Linked DNA regions of Homo sapiens: region 1 is linked to region 2. Evidence: promoter capture Hi-C in 16 types of primary human blood cells and fetal thymus (Javierre and others, 2016). All regions are on one chromosome and are shown on one strand. Each heading gives the region's core, a stretch centred on a gene start or on the middle of the fragment in contact. The rest is flanking DNA. Distances are from core to core; before and after follow the strand shown.

Region 1 (6,884 bases), core at 3,972-6,471, 320 kb after region 2:
AATGGTGTCCTCGCGTTAGACTTTAAAATTTTGAGAGATTGGCCGGGCGCGGTGGCTCACGCCTGTAATCCCAGCACTTTGGGAGGCCGAGGCGGGCGGATCACGAGGTCAGGAGATCGAGACCACGGTGAAACCCCGTCTCTACTAAAAAAATACAAAAAATTAGCCGGGCGCAGTGGCGGGCGCCTGTAGTCCCAGCTACTCGGGAGGCTGAGGCAGGAGAATGGCGTGAACCCGGAAGGCGGAGCTTGCAGTGAGCGGAGATCGCGCCACAGCACTCCCGCCTGGGCGACAGAACGAGACTCCGTCTCAAAAAAAAAAAAAAAAAAAAAAAAAAAAAAAAAATTTTGAGAGATTGAGAACAAATAAAAAGAGAGAGAAAATTATCAAAGAAATAATGCAAGAATGCTTCTGATAAATGAAAAGCATCTGTGTCCAGATGAAAGAGACCGCTTGGTGACTTAAACCAAGATGTGTTAACTGTAAAATTTCAAAATTTCAAGAATAAATAAAAAATAAATAGTAAATCCTTAAAGATTTTCAAGATAATTACATATTAATTTCATTGATTTTAAAACCAATCCATATATATCCTAGATAATTTAGAAAAGTATAAAGAAGAAAAATGTTTGTTCTAGTTATATGTATAATCATGTACATATATTTATAAAATCTGGATAATTGATATATGTATGACATATATATGTAATTTTATATTTAGCTTTTTTCCAAATAATACAATAGCATGAATATTCATTCCATTAATATTCTTCATAAACATGATGTTTAATGGCTATAAAATATTAAATTTTATGGATATGACATTGTCTATTTAGCCAGTTTCTATTGAAAAATATTTAGGTTGCTACTAAAAATAATGCTGCATTAAATATCTTGTGCATAAATCTTGGAAAGACTGCCTGATTATTTATTTGGGACAGATTTTTAGAAGAGGAACAACTGTTTAAAGGGTACTTACTAGTTGTTGGATAATTATGCCTATCTTTAAGACCCTTCATGCATATGACCTGGTTGTTTTTGAGAAGGTGCTATCAATTTAGAGAAGATACTCAAAGGAGGTTAAAAGGGTGTATGAAGTAAAGGGATCAGGCTGACTCTGAAATTAGTGGCAGAGTCAGTAAGGGAATGCAGCCCAATAACTTCCACACTAGCAGTCTTTGTGCACTCATCTTCCCATTGCTTTTTATGGATGCCAGTAGCAAAGTTCAAGCCTCTTATAAAAAAATAAAATAAAATAAATAAAACAAAATGCCAGGTAGCTTACTGCATTTCAGGCTCAAAATTGTTGCCAATAACATAAGACATGGTCTTGCATGATTCATATTTTTCATTGTCATTAAAAGACTTACTGAGTGCCTGTAGTAGTCAAGACATTAAATACAGCCTGGCATAAACAAGTATGGACCATTTCTTGAGCATGCCAGTATCATGGAGCAGGCTGCACCTTGTGCTGGTAGGGTATATGCTTCTGATTTCATGGGCAGAGTCAAAGAGGAGGGCAACAAAATCTACAAAAAGAATGTTGGGGAGAGGTAGAATGGTGAAATGGCATACATATAAACTGCTATTATATATGCATGCTAAGCAGAGACATGACTTCTTTCAGACTCAAGGAGATTTATCATTTAAGGTTTGGTTTGGCTGCATAAACAGAAAACCCAACTCATCCAAAGGTTAAACCAAACAATGTATTCCTCTCACACATAAGTTCAGAGGTTGGGATAAGAGGAGTGAGTGTCCTATTGCAGTAGTAACTTTATTTTATTTTACTTTTTAGAGGCAGGGTCTTGCTATGTTGCCCAGTCTGGACTTGAACTCCTGGGCTAAAGTGAACCTCCCACTTCAGCCTCCCAGTAGTTGGGACTACAGGCAGATGCCAACATGCCCAGCTTGTAGTAATTTATTTTTGAAGATTGATCTGAGAGTGGTAAGGGATAGGAAAAAGCAGGGGAAACTGAATCAGGAAGATGTCCTTAGGGAACAACTACTTGATGAGATATTAAGAGGGACTGAAATGACAGCATGAATGAAAGAGACACCGGAGAGAAGAATTTGCAAGTTGGTGTTGAAATGGAAAAGTAGGGCACAAGCAGAAAAGAAGTGAAGATGATATCAAGGTTTGGATATTGGTGACCCTGGTGGGAATTTCAATCCAAATTGGGAAGAGACAGTCAATTCCCTTTCAGGCACATGGAGCTTGTCTTCATGAGCTAAGCCAGGGCTACTATGGCAGAGACACTCCAGGACAGCGTGAGTACCTTGTCTAACTGGTTTTGGAGTATCAGCCTGATCATGCCACCCATGAAATAGTGCGTTGGTTCCCTTAGGAGGGCACACCTCTCAGCGCTGATAAGATTAGTGTGATCAGAATGAGAAAGGTTGGCTAGAAAAATACTGAAACCTAAAACACCCAGCACTTGGTGGCCAGACAGGAAACTTCATTGTCTCTACACACTGAATGCTGAAACCTGGAACAGGAGCCACTGGAAATCCTCATCCAAGACCTATTCAGTACACATTTGACTTTAACTTTGTTTTCTTCTTTTGATATCAATAACATTTCCATAAAAATGAAATGAATATAGAAAAGCAGGAAAATATATAAAAAAGAAGCAATAATCTCACTATCCAGAGATAAACTCTAATATGTGGGTACATAATTTTCTGTACCTTTTTTCCATCGACAATGTGTGCATGTTTGTGTAAAATGGAAATTATGTATTTTATGCTAAATTGGGGACTCTAACTTTTTGTGATTTGTTGACCTCCCATTTAAAAATGTTATGAAAAAAATTGTGAACATTTTTCCAGCTGCAATATTTTCTTCAACATTGTTTATAAAGGCTGTATAATGTGCCAGCACATACGTATACCATTACAATATTTAACCTCATGTGTATTTAGGGAGTTGTGAATTTTTGTTTTTATAAGCAACACTGCAATCGGAATTCTTAAAGCTAAATCGTCACATACATCTTTAGTGATTTCCTTACCATAAATTCCTAAAAATGGAATTAACAAAGGGCACATGCATTTTAAGGTTTTTGATACATATAACCACATTTCCCTTTAACAACTTTTTCTTATGTTAGTCCCACCACAGGATCATATGATAGTATCCATTTTTTACATTCTCATCAAAATTGGATATTTTTAGTACTAAAATATATTTGTCAATTTAAAAAGTAAAAAATGGTATTACATTATTGCTTAATTTTCATACTTTTATTACTATCCTAGTGAAAAATACACTTTTCACATTATTGGCTTTTTGTTTGTCTTGTGTGGTCAATTGCTTATTTATATCTTTATCTAATTTAGTGTTTAAAAAATTATTAGAACAATTTAATATAAGGTATATTTCCTTTTGCCTGTCTTAAATGTTGTAAAATTTTTCTCATTCTGAAAGTATCATTTTTCTTGCTTCTGGTAATTGTTAATGTCTACACGTTTAGTTTTTTTTTTTTCCTTTTATTATTTCTGCCTTTCACATAATATTCAAAGGTCCTTTCTCCACAATAATAATGCATAAATATTCACCTTTTTGTTATAATAGTAATTTTGTGAAGTAGTGGAAATGCTGTCAGGAATTTGTCTGAGATGGGTAACAAAGAGAGAGGAATCAAGAGTGACTGAGTTTTTGAGCTTGGTAGACTTTGGTGAGGGTGGAACCACTGACCAAAAACCAGGAATACAGGAAAGGGAACAAGTCTGTTAGGGTAGATAATGAGTTCAGTTTTGCACATGTTGCATTTAAACTGTCTGCCAGAAAGCCTGGTAGAAATGCCCAACGGGCAGTTGGAACAAGTTTATGGAATGCAGGAGTAAGGTTGTGTTTTAAATACAGATATAGAAATCATCAGCAGACATTTGATAGTTTAACAACATGTTCTTTTCAGTGCATATCCTGGGCCAAGCACTATGCTAAGCACTTCACAGAATTTTATTTGGTCTTCTCAAAAAAAAAATAGGAGGTTAAAATTATTATCCTCATTTTATACATGAAGGGACAAGCTTGCAAAAGTTAAACTACTTTACAAAGTTCTTATGACTGGGTAGTGGTAGAACTTGAATGTGAAATCAGGTAAGCTCACCTGATTCCAGAGTTCCTAACCCCATTTGCTCTATTGTCACAGGAGTAGATGAGCTCAAGCAGGGAAAGTCAGAGTCCCAAGGATGAAGAATAGCAAACTTTAGTGGATGGGCAGAAAAGAAGGGAAGTTGTGAAGGAGTCTAAGAAGGTCAGAGTGGAAGGCAGAAGGTCATGTGTATACATGCTGATGCTTTAACCAGAATGGAAGCATTTTTGATGGCAGGGACTTATATCTTATACACTCTTTGAGATAAACGTGAGACCTTTCTTCTGACCCTGATCCTCAAAAAACTCTGTTACAATGCTTTGTACATAAATATTTCTTCGTTTATGCTGTGATGGTCTGTCAGTAATTTTCTTGCGTTAACCTTCTGAGCTAGACCCTACCAGTCTCTCTGTCATCACCCATTATGGAATAGGGGTTCATTCACTGTACAGCCTCAGTACTATCCTATCGCCTTCTCTGAGAGCAACAGAAGTAGATTCCTTGTATATGCTCTCTATGTGCACTGGGTCAGACCTCTCCCCACAAATGCACAGCATGCCACTTTTACTTGTGTTGACTTTCTGCCCGAGTTGGTGAGAGATTATGGGATATATCCTTTTATCTTTGAATCATAGATTTTTCTTTTCTTCCTTTATTGGCTGTTTCCCTGCATAGTTAAGACTTTATCAAATGGAAATAGAATCAATCTCTTTTCTTTATAGCCTGAATATTTAGTAGCATAGCAGAAACAAAGCTACAGTAGAAGCCTGGACCTGGAATTTATCACATGCTAAAGGAGTGTGGTATAGTAGAAAAAGCACAGATTTAGGAATTACTGGTTACGATTCTCATGCTGTCACTCCATATCTGTGACTTTGGAAAAATTATTTAAATTCTTTGAGCCCTATTTCCCTCATTATAAAGTGAAGATACTTGCTACAGAGTGGTCGTGAAGATCAAATAAACTTACCAAGATAAAGGGCTTAGCTCATTGTAGGTTCCCAGGATAAGGAAGTTGAAATTCTAGTACATACAGAATCATTTTTCTCCATGTTCTCAGATGCTTGCCTTTCGGCCATTCCATAGCTTATTTCCACTCATCCATGTTAGATGTGTTAGTAGAAAAATACACCCCGATTCAGCCATGCCTGTCTGGCACAGCTAAGGCACATAATTTTAGTTGGTGATAAATACACTGCTGAAAATGGTTTAGGTCATACTCTGGTTTTCTTGATTCATACTACTGGTGGGTTAAAAAATGCACTTACAATCAGTTTCTCATGATAACCCGTAAATATCCTATTGTAGTCTTTTTTTTTCTGGAAAAAAATCTAGCCAGAAATTTCTCATAGACTGAAGAGTATTTATTTCAAGAACATCCCATACAGAATCCATCTTGGCCTCTCTCCAAATAACCCAAAAGTTGCTTCCTACTTCTAGACATCTGCTGCAATCCTGAATCAATACTAGATGACTCAAATTGCAAGTTAGCACAGGTTTCAGACAAGCCTAGTGGGTAAAGAGAGAACTTTTTGAAGACAAGAAAGAAATAAGCTGCAACTTTAACTTGGCAGACCTATTTATTAAAATTGTGGTTTAGGAGAATTTTCCAAAGCCCCTATAGCTGTAGATCTCATTTGAGAGCCTCAACTTCTCCCTCTTCTTTAGGAATGAATATTCTTTAGGAAAGTCCTGGCTTGTTCCTGTTGTTTGGTGTAATTATTCATAGTGCCCCCTTTCACTCTCAAGAGTCATAGTTTGAATGATAAAATATATGGTCATTTCTTCCAGGCCTTTTGCAGAGTAAAATTCATCTGTTGTAAGATATATTTCTTGTATTAATCTAAGAAAAATTAGATTACCTTTTCTATAACAGAGCCCTTGGGACCCCATCTTGCAGTCATTTACATATTTCTTCAGAGCAATAATTAAAAGCTCACATAAGCTAATGAATAACTCCCCATGGCTCTCTTAATGGCAAAAGCAAATAATGTGACTTCACAGGGGCTCACCAAACACAGCAGCTCTAGGAGGAAAACATGAGGGTTTGTCCCTTCAAGTTTACATTTGCAAAGCAATTTGCAATCATTGTAGTTTTTCCATTTCATAAGACTAAGTACCCACATTGGACAGAAAGGGAATGGAGACTAAGAGAAACCTAATGCTGTGCCTTCTGGGATATCATTCTTGGCTTGAATTCTGAGCACTTTGTGGTCTCACACACCTTTTACAAACTTGAGTCATCAGCCTTCCCGACCTTGGTGAGAAGATGTGCTGTGGTTTAGCAATTTGAGGGTAGTAAGCTTGTCAAAACATCACCAGAGATGTTTTGAGAATTACTGTGGAGAACAGGTTTCCATGGTGCAGTGTGGCTGCTGGGAGGGGGACGAATGGCACAGCTGTTCTCTCCATGGGGAGGAAGCACTGGATCTTTTGTGTCAGAAAAAGCTGAGATCCTCCTGATAATCCTAAGCCATCTTGACAGGTATATGTTCAGGTTGGGGAAGATAGGTTCTGAAGAAGCATCATAATTGCAGGGGACAGGGTTGAATGAAAGAGGAGGCAAGAATGGTCTAGCTGCTTGATAATATCCTTTCCATCTATTCACTGTCTGGCTTGATCCAGTTTATAGTTTGTCCCTGGCTACCTGGCTCCCTGTCTGCAGCCTAGTTCTGAGTGTAGAAAATAAGTTCAAAGCAAGGAAGGGGAGTACATGAAGGTTTGTCCTCCAAAAAGAATGTTCTTGGATTGCCTTTGTCTTGTGGGAAAATGTACAGCAGCAGA
Region 2 (6,283 bases), core at 3,034-5,533:
GGAGGCGCGCAGCCCGCGGCAGGGGCGCAGGCGGCTGGGGACGCGGCCCGGGAGAGCCCCGCGGCCGGTCCCGAGGCTGCGGCCGCCAAGCCAGACCTGGAGGAGCTGGTGGCTCTCACCCCGCCGTCCCCCTTCAGAGACTCGGTGGACTCGGGGAGCACAACCCCCAACTCGCCAGTGTCCGAGTCGGCCCTCTGTATCCCGTCGTCTCCCAAATATGACACTCTTATCATAAGAGATTACACTCAGAGCTCCTCGTCGTTGTGAATGTCCCTGGAAAGCACGCCGGCCTGCGCGTGCGGAGCGGAGCCCCCCGTGTTCACACACACACAATGGCAAGCATAGTCGCCTGGTTACGGCCCAGGGGGAAGATGCCAAGGGCACCCCTTAATGGAAACACGAGATCAGTAGTGCTATCTCATGACAACCGACGAAGAAACCGACGACAAATCTTTTGGCAGATTTTCTTCTAGTGGCCTTAGAAAACATGGGCTTTTAAGAAACACGGCTGATATCTTTGAGGGCTGACAAGGCGTCTCTTCAAACAGTTCCATACCAAGTGCTTTGCTCTAGGGAAGCAGTGCGTGTGAAACAGCGTAACGGAGGGTGAAGAGCATAGTTAATAAGCAACTGTAAAAAGTTTTATTTGTTTACTTTAATTCTTTTCCCAGAAGAGTCTTTGATTCACCAAACATGAATGTACATTTTCTAACAAACTCAAAATCTGGGACCAAAACATCAACTTTTTTCTTTCTTTTTTCTTTCTTTTTGTTTTTTCTTTCCTGTAAAGACCTTGAAAAGCAGTAACTTGGGTCCAGTATTTACGGAGGCGTTGTGAATGTGTCCCATGCATAACACACTACTGGATAGTGAGTGCTGCGCTAATGTACTACGTAGGGCTTCTACCAGAGATTTTCCTCTCCAATTGGGTTGTGAAATACTCTTCCAAAAGCCTGCATCGGGGATTCCACCTACTTATTTCAGATTCACCTCCATTAACCAAGAAAACCAGTGGAAGATTTCTTGACTATTTCACCATGTTGCCAATCAATACTGGAGTAGCAAAAAAAATATTTTCTGGAATACTGTTTTGTAATTCCCTCACTGGGGTGCATTGTAGCTGGAAATTCTCTTTATAAAAATCATTCTTGAGCTCCAGCCTGGCTATCTCTTTCAAGAAACATGGCCACTCTTTAGGAATGCTGTTGCGTTTGCATTGCCAACTAAAATATTAAAATATGCATTGGGGCTTCTTCATTCCTTTATTTTGAGAACCTGATGCACAAAGAGCTCCTTTGTTCTTTTCGAGTCCCACCACTGGAAGAGTGGTCCATAGACCCCATGAAGACATTGTCATGATTTGAGAGACTGTTGTTGAAAGGATTAACACAATCTTAATACACTGAAAATTTTAACTGTGTCAAGTCAGCTTAGTGGAGATTTAGCTATGCCAGTGAGCAGTGATTTTAACTATTCTTGGCTGCTTAAACAGGGCAGCTATGAACTATGACAAATGTAGATTTTTCAAAGCAATACAAAATACTAAAAAAGAGGAACCTTAATGAATATTAACCACACAGTCTTTCTTAGCCATTCCAAAAAGAGGCAAAGCAATTCTTATTTTCTTTTTTAAAATAATGATTAATATGATTTTGTGCACTTCATACTGTCACTTTTTAAAACTACAGAAAAGAGATTTAGAGTATAACAGAAACAAGTGTGCTTTGATAGTCTCAAATAGGTAGAATTCATAGTTCAAGACCTGAATCCACTGTCATCTCTTTCTTCCTCCCATTGCAGCTATCCTCAGGTACCAAATGTTTTGATTTTTAAATAAGGATAGTAATAAATGGAGGAGGTGTCCTATAAATTTAAAGTTCAGTTGACCCAGCCTTATACTTAAGATAGCCTTATGAAAAATATGTGCTGTGAGGCAGAAGTATATTTTGGCAGAGAGAATAATAAATAAAACTTTTTCTTTTAGCTCAATATCCTTACTTTGGTAAGTATTTTTTTTTATTTCACATCTACTTAACAGAAAATAAACTGAGAAATAGAAGTCAGTCCATTGGCATAATTTATCATTCTTCACTTTAAAAAATTCTAATAAATATTCTGCTTGAGTTTTCTTTTCTGCTATTTGTTCTTACTTGCAACTTTAAGTCAAACCTCCCAATACAAAACATTAAAAGCTAACATTAATGTACTAAAGTATTAATTTAAAAGAAATCGAACCTCCCATGCTAGATTTGAAAATAACATCATCACAGCACCCTGATCCCAAATATTACACCGAGGCTTTTAAAATGTAAGTGAAATCTAGCTAAGTTTCATGGTTTCATTAAAAGCAAATGTCTGCCTCTATCTGAAAAACAAATGGAAATCTTTTGAGGTGTTAATACCCTTTGGATCCTCATCAAAAGGATGGCATTCACCTGAGGATTCCTATCTTGACTTCTTAGGTATTAAAAACCTTTCTTGATATGCTCTACATTTTAAAATTTGTTTTATAAAATCCTTATGTTGATTTTCATTTTATTCTCAAGTACAATACGTTTCACTCTAGACCAGTTGAAGAACATGTTTAAACTTTGTTCATGGTCAAATTCATTTTCTATTTTTTTAGTAACATATCTCTTAAAAAGCACACTACCTTATAAAAAACTTCATCAGAAATTAAATTTAATGCAAGTAAATTGCCATCTGATACTTCCACATGCTATCATAATCAACTGTAATAATAAAAATGATTTATCCAATTAGAAAAGGACAAGATATATTTTTCTCTGTATTTCTATAACTTTTGCCACTCCATTGAATACATTGTATGTTGGACATAAGATTATTAGTAATGCATTCTTGAGATCTTTTATTTTGGAATGATGCTAACTCTGTCTCTTTGCCAATTCTAATACCAGGTTCCAAGTAATAACTCTACAGTACAAAGAGAACTGAATATTCATTCTAGGGCTATAGGATATGAACTTCACAATTCATTTGGGTACATTCTCATTGAATTTCCTTCAAAACAATCTGTTCCTGGTGCCCAGTGATAATTCAGTCGGGACCAGCATGACTAAAAGGAAGGGGATATGCTAAGGCTCAGCAAAGTGACCCTAAATGAGAGATATGTCCCAGGATGGAAAGAAGAAGACGTGGTTTAACCAAGTTATACTGACTAATCTAAGCAGTCCACTCATCCTTCCATTTTGGGAAAGGAGTGGGGGCAGCCTAAGAAGAACATATCTGGATTGGGAAGAACCGTCTTTCTGGGCTAGGGATGGGGAACAGAAAGGGAGTATGGAAAGAAAAATTATAAGAGATTTGACTGAAGCAAGGAAAAAAAGCAAATCCCCAAACGTGCTAATCCTTGAAAGTAACTATCTTTCCCAAACTACTGCTGTTACCAGCAAGTGATCAGGAAGACTAGGAGCTATTTCTGACTGTAAATGAATTGTATAATAGCTCTGCTGCAGTTCTGTGACTTCCAAGCCAGGAATTAAATGCTCTTTTTAAGAATAACAAAAAACAAAAGCATTTCCTATGCTAGTCTCCCAGTAAAATGTACATGTTTTGGAGACTTCAAAGGTATTATGTGAGTTCACATTTAGCAACAGCTTATTAATAACCCTCAAGCTGTCAGAATCTCTATAGTTACCATTTACAATTTTATACTGTGAAAAAATACAGATCAGTGAAAGCATAAAGACAAGTCAGAATTCACTTTGAAGAGGGTCTGAGGCCTGGGAGAGTCTCTACTGTCTATTGAAGAATGAGGCATGTATAAAATAGTTGGTTGAATTTCACTGATCTTCCCAATGTGAACAAATATACTATGTATATTGTGTGTATTTCTAGAAATCAATGGCAGCTGCTGATGGTGTTGTAATTAGAAATCTATATAGATTATAGATGTTTTAGAAAGATGGTGCCAATCCTAAAAGATTTGTGTGGGCTAAAAGTGCTTGTACTTACTTTTTTCTGCACTTATAACTGATTTGGTTTTAAAATTGTGTGCGTGTATCTGTTCTTTCTCTGTTGTGGCAGCTTGTACTATTAAAATAATAGAGAATGTTAAATTATTTTGATGTGAACTGCAAATGATTTTTTTTCATAAAGTTTAACATTTTTATCAGCATTGTTTTGCTTTGTACTTGTATAAATATGTTTTATTTTAGCACTTCAAAATATACTTGCCTGTTTCTCAGTTGTCTAAATCATGTTGTACTTGGTGTTTGTGAAGCCAGTTACTTTTCAAAAAAATTAAAAAACCTATAATATGATTTTAAGATTATTCCCCTCAAATGTTTAGAATGTTGTCTTAATAGTGTTTTCTGAGATGAAAAGAGCCATGATACTAATTAATCTTGAATACTGGATGATCTATACATTTGAATTATGGGGTTTACAAAGTAAGCAGTGGACTGTATAGATTTAAATGAAAATATAAACCAACCACAAACCAACCAGAGATGTTGTCCCCAAACACATCTACAAACAACTGTTACATAAAGAAGTACTTAAAAAAATATATAGGAAATATGCATTGTTTATGCATCTAGACATACAAATTATAGAAATAGTTTCATAATTATATGTGTTGATAGAGGTAACATCACACAGATAAAATAGATTATTTGTGTGTGTATAGATGTGTGTTTACAAACATACATATTTATATAGACATTTGACTTTTGAGTCCATCTGCATGTGTCTCTGTGTATATGTGTGTTTGTGTGTAGATGTATGTGCATATTACATAATTTTTCCAGAAAAAAAAAAAGTTTTACTTTGACTGATTCTTGAGCAAATATACATTCCCTGGACACAAATTAGTGAAAAACTAACAGCAGAATATAAGGTAGATGCTTGATGTATGGAAGAGAAAAACAAGGTATATTTAAAAATATATTTGATTTATGCTTCTGACATTGTATTAAATGCATAATGATATATATACATATGTAGATACATATATTATACAGAATGTGTTTGATCTTAACAAAGAAAGCCATTTTATCTGTTTTGTCAGACTCTTCCCTTCAGTATCTTTTATTCTAACGTGATATGAATGGTAATATGTTCACATAAAATTGAGGATGAAGTGACATATACAAACCAGGTACAGGAAATTACCTTCTAAAAATCCAAAGAGCCTTATCAGACTCCATCAAATTATGGAAGGCCATTTAAAACCAGCGGATGCAATAGAAATAGCATTGAATTAAAAGCCAGGATCTCTTACCTGTCACCAACTGACTTTGGATAAATCACTCTGATTTCTCTACAACTTGTTCCTCTTGCTTTAAATGCAGAAGTGAGTTACAATAATCTGTGAAGTTTCTATCATTTCAACATTCCTGATAAATGCTCAATAGTAGCTATTATTAGTGTCAATGTAGTATTTAGTATACAGTTAATATTCAGCAGGAAGCTTAAATTTGTTATATCAATGTTATTTGTGGAGCTTAACAAGTTCCTGTCCAACTTAAAGCATATATCCTGGAGGAAACCTATTGAGGTTTGAACTCATATGCAACCTTGGAACTGTCTATCAAGGACAACTTAGTAAATTGATATTGAACACCACAGAGAGAATGCTTTTCCTCTGTTATAATTGCTGCTGAATGCTGGCCAAGTTTTTGGTTATGCTGTACATGAATGATCAGTTTTAGAACATAAACAATTTGCAAATATTTACTTTGTATGATAGCTAGGCAGAAAGGTAGGTAAGCACATAGATAGGCAGAATTATATTAATGAAGTTATCTCCTTAAGCAAAAGCTTGGTATTTACATTTTCTCTCACAGTATTTTAAAACTCAGAATCAGTTATTACATCTCACTCTGTTTATTACTTTTAGGTTATTATGTTAGTAAATAAGTTCTATGAAGAGAATGTTTAAACTCATCTTCTCCAGCCACTCTTAGAATCCTGAACCAAAAGTTTCCAGGAACACTTAACCTCCACTAGAATAAATGTTTTAAATTACTGTTACACCAGGACAAAGACATTTATTTTTGCCAGGACATAAGTCTCTTTGAGGTATGATCTATATACAGGATACCTATGTGATATACATATCAGACACTTTGGCTTATTTATGTATAGCTTGTATTTTTATTCATTGACATTAAAAATAAAAATTTTCATACTATCAGATTTCTATGATGAGATAGATGTTATATTTTAAATTATACAAATTCTATGTCCGTGAAAACCACATAATAAATTGTGGCTTTTCTGAACTGCTGAATAGTAATAGGTGATTCATAAAAGTTCT

Evidence for each region. Contacts are between HindIII fragments. The CHiCAGO score rates a contact against its expected background, and 5 or more counts as called.
Region 1: a contact is called between a fragment that was not itself captured here and the fragment with the promoter of GRM5-AS1 in region 2, in 2 of 17 cell types (activated CD4 T cells and monocytes). The highest score is 6.1, in activated CD4 T cells.

The regions. Positions count from the first base shown.
Region 1 is chr11:88,178,851-88,185,734 of GRCh38, reverse strand. No RefSeq gene overlaps it. Among named protein-coding and RNA genes, the nearest start is that of MIR3166, 5.8 kb to the right of the region's middle. The HindIII fragment of the contact is 2,368 bases long and covers 4,038-6,405 here.
Region 2 is chr11:88,502,576-88,508,858 of GRCh38, reverse strand. GRM5-AS1 (GRM5 antisense RNA 1) reads right to left here and starts at 4,283. Exons shown (of 6, transcript NR_049724.1): 1 at 1-4,283. It overlaps GRM5 (glutamate metabotropic receptor 5), which reads left to right. Exons shown (of 10, transcript NM_001143831.3): 10 at 1-4,217. The coding sequence ends at 267. The HindIII fragment of the contact is 8,959 bases long and covers 1-5,436 here.